Linked DNA regions of Homo sapiens: region 2 is linked to region 1. Evidence: promoter capture Hi-C in 16 types of primary human blood cells and fetal thymus (Javierre and others, 2016). All regions are on one chromosome and are shown on one strand. Each heading gives the region's core, a stretch centred on a gene start or on the middle of the fragment in contact. The rest is flanking DNA. Distances are from core to core; before and after follow the strand shown.

Region 1 (4,038 bases), core at 1,500-3,999:
TAGTGAAACAAAGTAATTTGCCCAGCATAGTGGTTGCACCAAGGGGTTACTGGGGTGCTTTGCTTGCCGCATGTGAATCTCTAGCAGCCCCACTCAAGTCACCTTACATAATTAAAAAAAACCCAATAATAATGATAATGATATTCTTTGATCTTGACAATGAATGTTTTTTCACTCTCATTTAAAATGTGAATAAAGGTCAGGCCTGGTGGTTCATGCCTGTAATCCCAGTACTTCGGGAGGCCAAAGGGGGGGAATCACTTGAGGTCAGGAGTTCGAGACCAGCCTGGCCAACATGGTGAAACCCTGTCTCTACTAAAAATACAAAAAATTAGCCGGGCGTGGTGGTGGGCGCCTGTAATCACAGCTCCTTGGGAAGTTGAGGCACAAGAATTGCTTGAACCCAGGAGGTGGAGGTTGCAGTGAGCCGAGATCACACCACTGCACTCCAGTCTGGGTGACAGAGCGAGACTCCATCTGAAAAAAAAAAAGTGAATAAAGTGATAATGGTACTACTAATAAGCTATTATTAGTTAGCTATAAGTGTTAGCTGTAACACTTATGGAGCGCTTATCCTAAATCATTCCGTTCAAAGTTCTAAACGTGATAACATTAAATTCTTACAATAATCTTTTCAGGAAGGTATTATTGTTATCCTAATTTGCAGATGAAGAAACTGAGACACAGAGGGGGTAAGTAGCTGTCACAAGGCATCATGACTTGCAGGTGGCAGAGCTAAAACTCTGCTATTTTTACTGATTTATAACACAGCCTAAGTAATACAAACAATATGCTCAATACAACAACTCACCTTCAAGGCAAGTCCTCCCGACTTCCCTTCCAACCAGTCTGCAATCCCCAAACACCTTTTATATGGAAGTTCTTAGTCACCACTGGTCCCAGATTACGTGGGCAGGAGGTGGGAAGCCTGCGTTCTCATCTGGGTTGGTCTGACTCTGAAGCAGGGATCTTTACTGTTGTACTGTTCCAGCCCCAGCCAGGTTAAACCCAGGTTCAAAGGCCAAATCACACACTGGTTGGAAATGACCTTGGAAATCATCTAACCCAGCGTTTCTCAACCTCCGCACTATTGACATTTGGGGTTGGATAACTCTCCTGGGGGGACCGTCCTGTGCATGATAGGATGTCAAGCAACATTCCTGGCTTCTACACACTAGATGCCAGCAGCACCTCCCCACTGTAACAATCAAAAATGCCTTCAGTCGGCCAGGCGCGGCAGCTAACTCCTGTAATCTCAGCACTTTGGGAGGCCGAGGCAGGCGGATCACCTGAAGTCAGGAGTTCGAGACCAGCCTGGCCAACATGGTGAAACCCCATCTCTACTAAAAATACAAAAATTAGTTGGTGGCGCACACCTGTAGTCCCAGCTACTGGGGAGGCTGAGGCAGGAGAATCGCTTGAACCCAGGAGGCAGAGGTTGCAGTCAGCCGAGATCGCGCCACTGCACTTAAGCCTGGGCGACAGAGCGAGACTCTGTCTCAAAAAAAAAAAAAAAAAAAAAAAAAAAAATGCCTTCAGTCACTGACAAATGTGGGAGTGGAGGTGGTGGAATGGCAAAATTTCTCCTTGGTTGAAAGCCACTGATCCAAACCATCTCATTTTACAAATGATGGAGCTGAGGTCCAAAGAGATGAAGTAACTTGTTTAAGCTAGTTAGCAAAGCCAAGATTAGAATCCAGGTTATTCACGCAATATCCTTTTATTTCTATAACGTACAGGGCACGATATGGAACTCAGAGGAAGTCACTGCAGTCCTTGTCCTCACAGTCTGGTAGGGGAGAGAATCTATTGCACAGATATCTCTATCTCCACGAAGTTGGTAAGTCATAAAGTGCTCCTCAGGCAGCAAGGTACGAAGAAAGAGAATATGTTCTCGTGTTCTGAATTCCGGATCTGCCACTTTTTTGCTGCAGGATTTAACTAAGGTTCAGTTTCATCATCAATGAAATGGAGATCATGGTATCTACTTATATCACCAGTTTGAAACGGGTCTGTGGATGCATTGTGCAAACTCTAAAGCTCTTACAAACATCGGGTATTATTACTAACTTCATTAGGAATGTGAGTTATATTAGAGTAAAAGCTCTCAGAACTGGGGTGAACCATAGAGGGGTGGCTTCATTCCTCGACCTTCCAATTTGAGACATTTTTTCTTCTGCGGGAGGGGAAGCAGGCAAATAGCCTGCCTCTCACAGAGTGCCCATTCCCTCTCCGGGAACCAAGGTGCTCAGGCGAGTAAACTCAGGACTTAACTCTGTACAACTAGTACCGCAAGCAGGAGCCACTCCCTGGCCTTCGGGTCTCTCAAGCCCCGCCTGCTCCAGGATACGGCCCCGCCCAGAAAGGAGACAGACCCCGCCCCCCCCGCGCTGCCCCGCACTCCAGCCGCGCTGTGCCTCCAGGACAATCCCAGGCCCGTGCCGGAGATTCCCGAGCTTCCCCGATCGCTTCCCGGCCTCCCTCGGGCAGCCAGCGAGGAGACTACGGAGATTGCCGAGGGGGCCTGGCCCCGCCCCCCCCGCGGGCCGCCACCGCCCCCCTCGCCGTAGCCTCCCGCGCGGGCTGGAGTTCTACATCCCGGTCCCTCCCTCCCTCCCTCTTTCTCTCTCCCCGCCTTCCCGGTGCTGCCACAGTGGCGGGTCGGAGGATCCCGGCCAGTCAGCTCGTTCCTGCCTCGCGCCCCTCCTCCCCCCAAAATAAACAGCCCTCCCCACGCCTCGGGAGCCCGGACCGCCCCCTTCCTCCCTCGGCCGGCGTGCTGTGAGGGAGAGTGTGAGCCAGCGCGGCCGGTGGGCGAGCTCCGGGAGTGCGAGAGGCGGGGCGGCGCGGCGGGCCGGGCCGGGTTTCGCGTGTGCGTGCGGGGGCGCGAGCGAGTGCTCATCACGACCCGCCAGTGGCCCCGCGCCGACAACCCGGCGGGCGGGCGGGCGGGGAGCAAGCGGTCAGGCAAGGAGCGGCGGCCGCGAGGCGCGGAGGGGCGCGGAGTCCGCTCGCGCGCACGCACGCACGCACGCGGGGGCGGGGGCAGGCGCGCGCCCGCCTGTCGCGACAGTCGGGGCCGAGGCCCAGGGGGAGGTGGCCTGTCGCGGGTCGCCCGGCTCCCGGAGGCGAGGGGGGCGCGGGCGGATGGCGGAGGGCGCCCAGCCGCATCAGCCGCCTCAGCTCGGGCCCGGCGCCGCCGCCCGGGGCATGAAGCGGGAGTCGGAGCTGGAGCTGCCGGTGCCCGGAGCGGGAGGAGACGGAGCCGATCCCGGCCTGAGCAAGCGGCCGCGCACTGAGGAGGCGGCGGCCGACGGTGGCGGCGGGATGCAGGTGACCGCGCGGGACGGGGCGCCCAGTTATTGCGGGGGTGGGCGTGAGGGTCGACACCGGGCTCCCCGGCTTGGAGAGAGGGAGGGCCTCCGGGAGTCCTGGGTTGGAGGTGGGATGGGGGGCCATTCGGGGCCTGGTTGGAAGGTGGGGCGAGCTCGGGCTAGGAACGAAGGTTGCAGGACTGAACCTGGTGTGCCCGAGAGGGTCCTGATTCCTGAGGGGCCAGGAGGCACGACGAGTGGATAGGTTTTGGGGGGAAATCGAACAAGGTTGAGATGGATTCCATTTTTTCAAATCCTTCCTTAGTGCCTTGGGGTGGAGTGGAAGCCGGGAAATCCTGGCTTCTCTGGACTGAGTCGAGGAAAAGGAGATCTGGTGGGAAACCTCCCGAGAAGAGGGAGTACCTTTTGGCAGCCCTGGGCACACGCTGGGATGGGGAAGAGAAGTGGCATTTCAATGAGAGGAGTGAAAAGAAAACTCCTCGAGAGAGCCCCGAGGGGATGTGGCTGAGATTGTGGGTTAAATCACACAGAGTGTGAGAAGTACAAGGAGTTTGGTAATGTTATGGGGACACGGTGGTGCTCAGTCTCATTTACTTTGTGGAGCATACTAATGAGTCTGAAGGGAGACACTAGACATGTCCCTCCTGTTCTTTGCCAATTGCATTCTACATCACCAGGACACAAAATAGCTCTTTAATGTCCC
Region 2 (4,250 bases), core at 1,608-4,107, 400 kb after region 1:
TGCTGTGTGGAATATTAGGGTGCATTCTTTATATAAATATTTTATTCCCAGCTTCCCTTTCTCATCTTTCCACTAGATTATTATTATTATCTTGGGCCATGACTGGGCAGGCAATGCCGTACAGTCACCAAACCCTGTTTCATTTCCTCCTGGGCACACAGAGAGACCTCATTCCCACAACTCCCTCCAAGTAAGCGGTGCCTGTGGCTGTGATCTGGCTGATGGAATTTGGGCAGAAGCAATGAGCACCACTTTCAGGCATACCCCCTAAAACCCCTTACAAGATCCTCCACCCTTTTTTTTTTTTTTTTTTTGGGAGATGGAGTTTCACTCTTGTTGCCCAGGCTGGAGTACAGCGGCGTGACCTCGGCTCACTGCAACCTCCGCCTCCCGAGTTCAGGTGATTCTCCTGCCTCAGCCTCCCGAGTAGCTGGGATTACAGGCGCCCACCATGATGTCAGGCTTATTTTTGTATTTGTAGTAGAGACAGGATTTCACCATGTTGGCCAGGTTGGTCTCGAACTCCTGGCTTCCAGTGATCCACCCACCTCTGCCTCCCAAAGTGCTGAGATTTCAGGCGTGAGCCACCTTGCCCAGCCCACCCTCATTTCTTTCTCCAGCGGTTTGCCTGCTGGATGCAGAGGGATGGGGGTTTTGGAAGTCCTTGGGGAGGGAGCCTGAGTGCCTGAATCACTGGGTGCAGGAGAGCCCTCTTCTCAGCTTACATTGGACTGGGAGATAAATGAGAACGAAATCTTTTGAGCCATGGCTAAGGACACATCATGAGATTTGGGGGCTGTTTGTTACAGCAGCTAGTATGCTAACACACCAGTGTAGGCAGCCATATTTGTATTTCTGCCCTCACCCAAGCCTGGTACATAAGAAGCCCTTAGTAGTCCTCCTCATCTCCCATGAGGCTTTCTTCTCATCCACCCTTCAAATGCAGGCCTGACCCTGTCGTCCCCTCTAGGAAGTTTTCTTCCCCACCTCCTCTTCTTCTTCCCAATTCTGAAATGCTGCTGACCCCCGCAAGGGTCCTTCTCTTCCTCCCTCACATCCTCCCCAGGTGACGTCTGCTGCCTCCTCTACGCTGGCACTTCCTATAGCTTAGACTGTAACCCTCAGCCCGATGGGGTAAACTGAGGCTTCTCCAAATTGCCAGATAAATTCAGGATGTTTTGTGATGCAACTCTGGAAGGGGAACCCAATCCTGTGTTAGCAGAATAAGGATGGGGCATTGATTCCCAAGAAATGAGTCCAACTCACGCTAATGGGAAGAATAGCAATATCTCCTGAGGACCAAATGGGCTTTTTTTTTTCTTTTTTCTTTCTTTTTTTTTTTTTTTTTTTTTTTTTTGAGACAGAGTCTTGCTTTCTTGCCCAGGCTGGAGTGCAGTGGTGTGATCTTGGCTCACTGCAACCTCCGCCTTCCAGGTTCAAGCAATTCTCCTGCCTCAGCCTCCCAAGTAGCTGAGACTACAGGCACCCGCCACCACACCCGGCTAATTTTTTTTTTTTTTTTTTTTGTATTTTTAGTAGAGATGGGTTTTCACTGTGTTAGCCAGGATGGTTTCAATCTCCTGACCTCGTGATCCACCCGCCTCGGCCTCCCAAAGTGCTGGGATTACAGGCATGAACCACAAATGGGCTTTTAAGGAAGAAATGGCTCTGCTGTGGGTTGTGTTTGATTTGAGAGAGACCAGAGAAAACCTAATTGCAGCCCAGGGTGACCGTGGTTTCATTTTCCCTCTCTGCTTCTCCTGCCCCCTCCCTGGGGGGCCCTCCCTGGAGCAGAGCTGACTCTGACGCCTCCTTCCTGGGGGAGCTGGGGTTTGATTGTTTTTCAAGGGAATGGTGGGAGGTGTTGGGACAGGGATGGGCGGTGCCTGGGGAGAGAGAATGTGTGTGGCTGCAGAATGCTGGGGAGGGAACAAGGAAGGAGAGGACCTGGCCTGGAGACTGCCCAGACGGGCGCCTGAGCTCCCCAGCTTCCCCTAAGGAGTAAGGTCTCCTTTCCCATGTCCTGCCACCCAGAAGTAACCACACCCATGCCCTCTCTACGCCCCTTGTGCAGCCTTCAGGGTAGACCGAGGAGAGCACCTCCCCTTCCTGGTGAAGGGAGCCCGATACACGCTGGTGCCGGCTGGCCAAGAAGGAGGTGGACAAACCTGGCGACCGCTCCCTGGCACCACCTCACCAGAGGACAGCTCACACCTCCACAGGGGTCAGAAGAAAGGAGCTGCCCTGGGGATGGCTGTGTATCCCTACAACTGCCAGGCACATGCCCCTTGAACACCCGATGCTACGTGTCCCAAAGGAAACTGGTCTCCACCCACCCCCGGCCCGTCCTCGTCCTGGGTACCCCACCTTAGTAAATGGCGCCACCATCTGCCCGGTCACTCAGCGAGAAACTCAACTCCTGGCAGCAGATGACGGGCACTCTGGTTAAATGACTCTCTCCAGCCTCCAAGTTCAACCTGCAGGGAAGCCCTGGAAATCCTGTCTCCCTCTGCCCTGCCTCTCCTTCAGCTCCGAACCCCACCCCACTCAGTACATGGCCCCCCAACAGGCTTTCAAATGTCTGCCTTCCCCAAACCAATCTGTGGTTTTAAAAGAAGTAAGGTCAGGTACAGTAGCTCATGCCTGTAATCCCAGCACTTTGGGAGGCCGAGGCAGGCGGATCACCTGAGGTCAGGAGTTTGAGACCAGTCTGGCCAACATGGCGAAACCCCGTCTCTACTAAAAATAAAAATAAAAAATTAGCCTGGGTGTGGCGGTATGTGTCTGTAGTCCCAGCTACTCCGGAGGCTGAGGTAGGAGAATTGCTTGAACCCGGGAGGCAGAGGTTGCAGTGAGCCAAGATCACACCACTGTACTCCAGCCTGGGTGACAGATTGAGACTCCGCCTCAAAAAAAAAAAATCAGGACAGTGGTTGTCTCTGGCAGGTGAGGGGGCCAGGATTGACTGGGGAGGGGCGTGCAGGAACTTTGGGTGATGACAATGTTCTCTAACTTAATACAGTTTGAGCTACACAAGTGAGTGTAGTTGTCAAATCTCAGCAAATGTATATTTAAGACATGTGCAATTAAATGTAAATTTTACATCTTACAGCAAAACAGAAAATGCAAAGAAATTTTGAACTCTTGTTCATGTCATGTATTGTGGAGTTTCTGCAGGGAATCAGATAGATGTCTGCAATTTAAAATGCCACAAAACAAGAAGAATGGATGGGTGCGTAGAGGGAGAGAGAAGCATGATTAAATTCATTTAGTAAAATGCCAGTGGTAGAGTTTAGGTGGTTTTCAGTGTGAGATTCTTCCCACTTTGCTGCATGTATGAAAATTTTTATAATAAAATGTTAGGGAGAAATGCCTCCTGGCTCCAGACGTGTCCCCTCCATTATGTTAATCACATCTGCAATTAGTGTGATGTTTCTAGGACAGCAAATCAGACCATGGCTCTCCCTTGCTCGGAAACCCTTCTGTGGCTCTCCCTGGGGACACGCCCCCACGTCTGTGGCTCCCAAGGCTGTCCATGCCTGGCCTCTGTTTATTTCTGTAATCATCACTCTCCCCTTCACTTTTTCCACCACGGAAACACCAAAATATTTATGCGTCCTGCATAGCATGCTATTTTATGTCTCCTATGATAGAAATCGCTCATTTTCATCTAATATACCTTCCCCACTTCTTTCTAAGTAGTAGAAACTCCAATTTTTATCTGGTGATGTGGCCATGTAGAAATAAAGACTACATATCCCAGCCTCCTCTGCAGTGAGGTACGGCCATTGGATGCGCAGCAAGATAAAGTATTAATTACAACTTCTGGAAAGTGTTCTTTAAGATAGGGGCACAACCTTCTTCACCCCTTTCTCCTTCCTGCTGGTTGGAATGAGGGCACGATGGCTGGAGCTCAAGCAGCCATCTTGGATGAGGAGGTGAAGGCCATATGTGTAACATGACAGAGCACTAAGGTAGATTGAAGCTGGGTCCCCGAGACTGTGGTGTGCCATGTCAGCTCTGAATCCCCTGCCTCTAGACTTCTATATGAAAGAGAAATTAATACTCTCTTGCTGAAGCCATGTTATTTTGAGTTTTCTGTTACCAACAACCAAACCTAGTCCTAACACACCAACTTCTATGTCCTTGAATGTTTTGATCCTTGTACTTGGAATGTCTTTTCCTCACTTTGCTCCTAACAAACTCCCATTGATCCTTCAAAACCTTGCTCGGACATCACCTTCTCAGTT

The links. The method cuts DNA at HindIII sites, captures the fragments that hold promoters and counts their contacts. A CHiCAGO score of 5 or more calls a contact.
Region 2: a fragment that was not itself captured here is called in contact with the fragment with the promoter of RBFOX2 in region 1 in 3 of 17 cell types (M0 macrophages, M1 macrophages and activated CD4 T cells); the score reaches 6.3 in M0 macrophages.

Annotation. Positions count from the first base shown.
Region 1 is chr22:36,027,535-36,031,572 of GRCh38, reverse strand. RBFOX2 (RNA binding fox-1 homolog 2) reads left to right here and starts at 2,749. Exons shown (of 14, transcript NM_001349999.2): 1 at 2,749-3,333. The coding sequence starts at 3,148. RefSeq lists a silencer at 2,514-2,583. The HindIII fragment of the contact is 7,441 bases long and covers 1-4,038 here.
Region 2 is chr22:35,625,484-35,629,733 of GRCh38, reverse strand. It overlaps LOC284912 (a long non-coding RNA gene), which reads left to right. Exons shown (of 4, transcript XR_001755514.1): 4 at 2,075-2,158. Among named protein-coding and RNA genes, the nearest start is that of MB, 10 kb to the right of the region's middle. The HindIII fragment of the contact is 8,948 bases long and covers 1-4,250 here.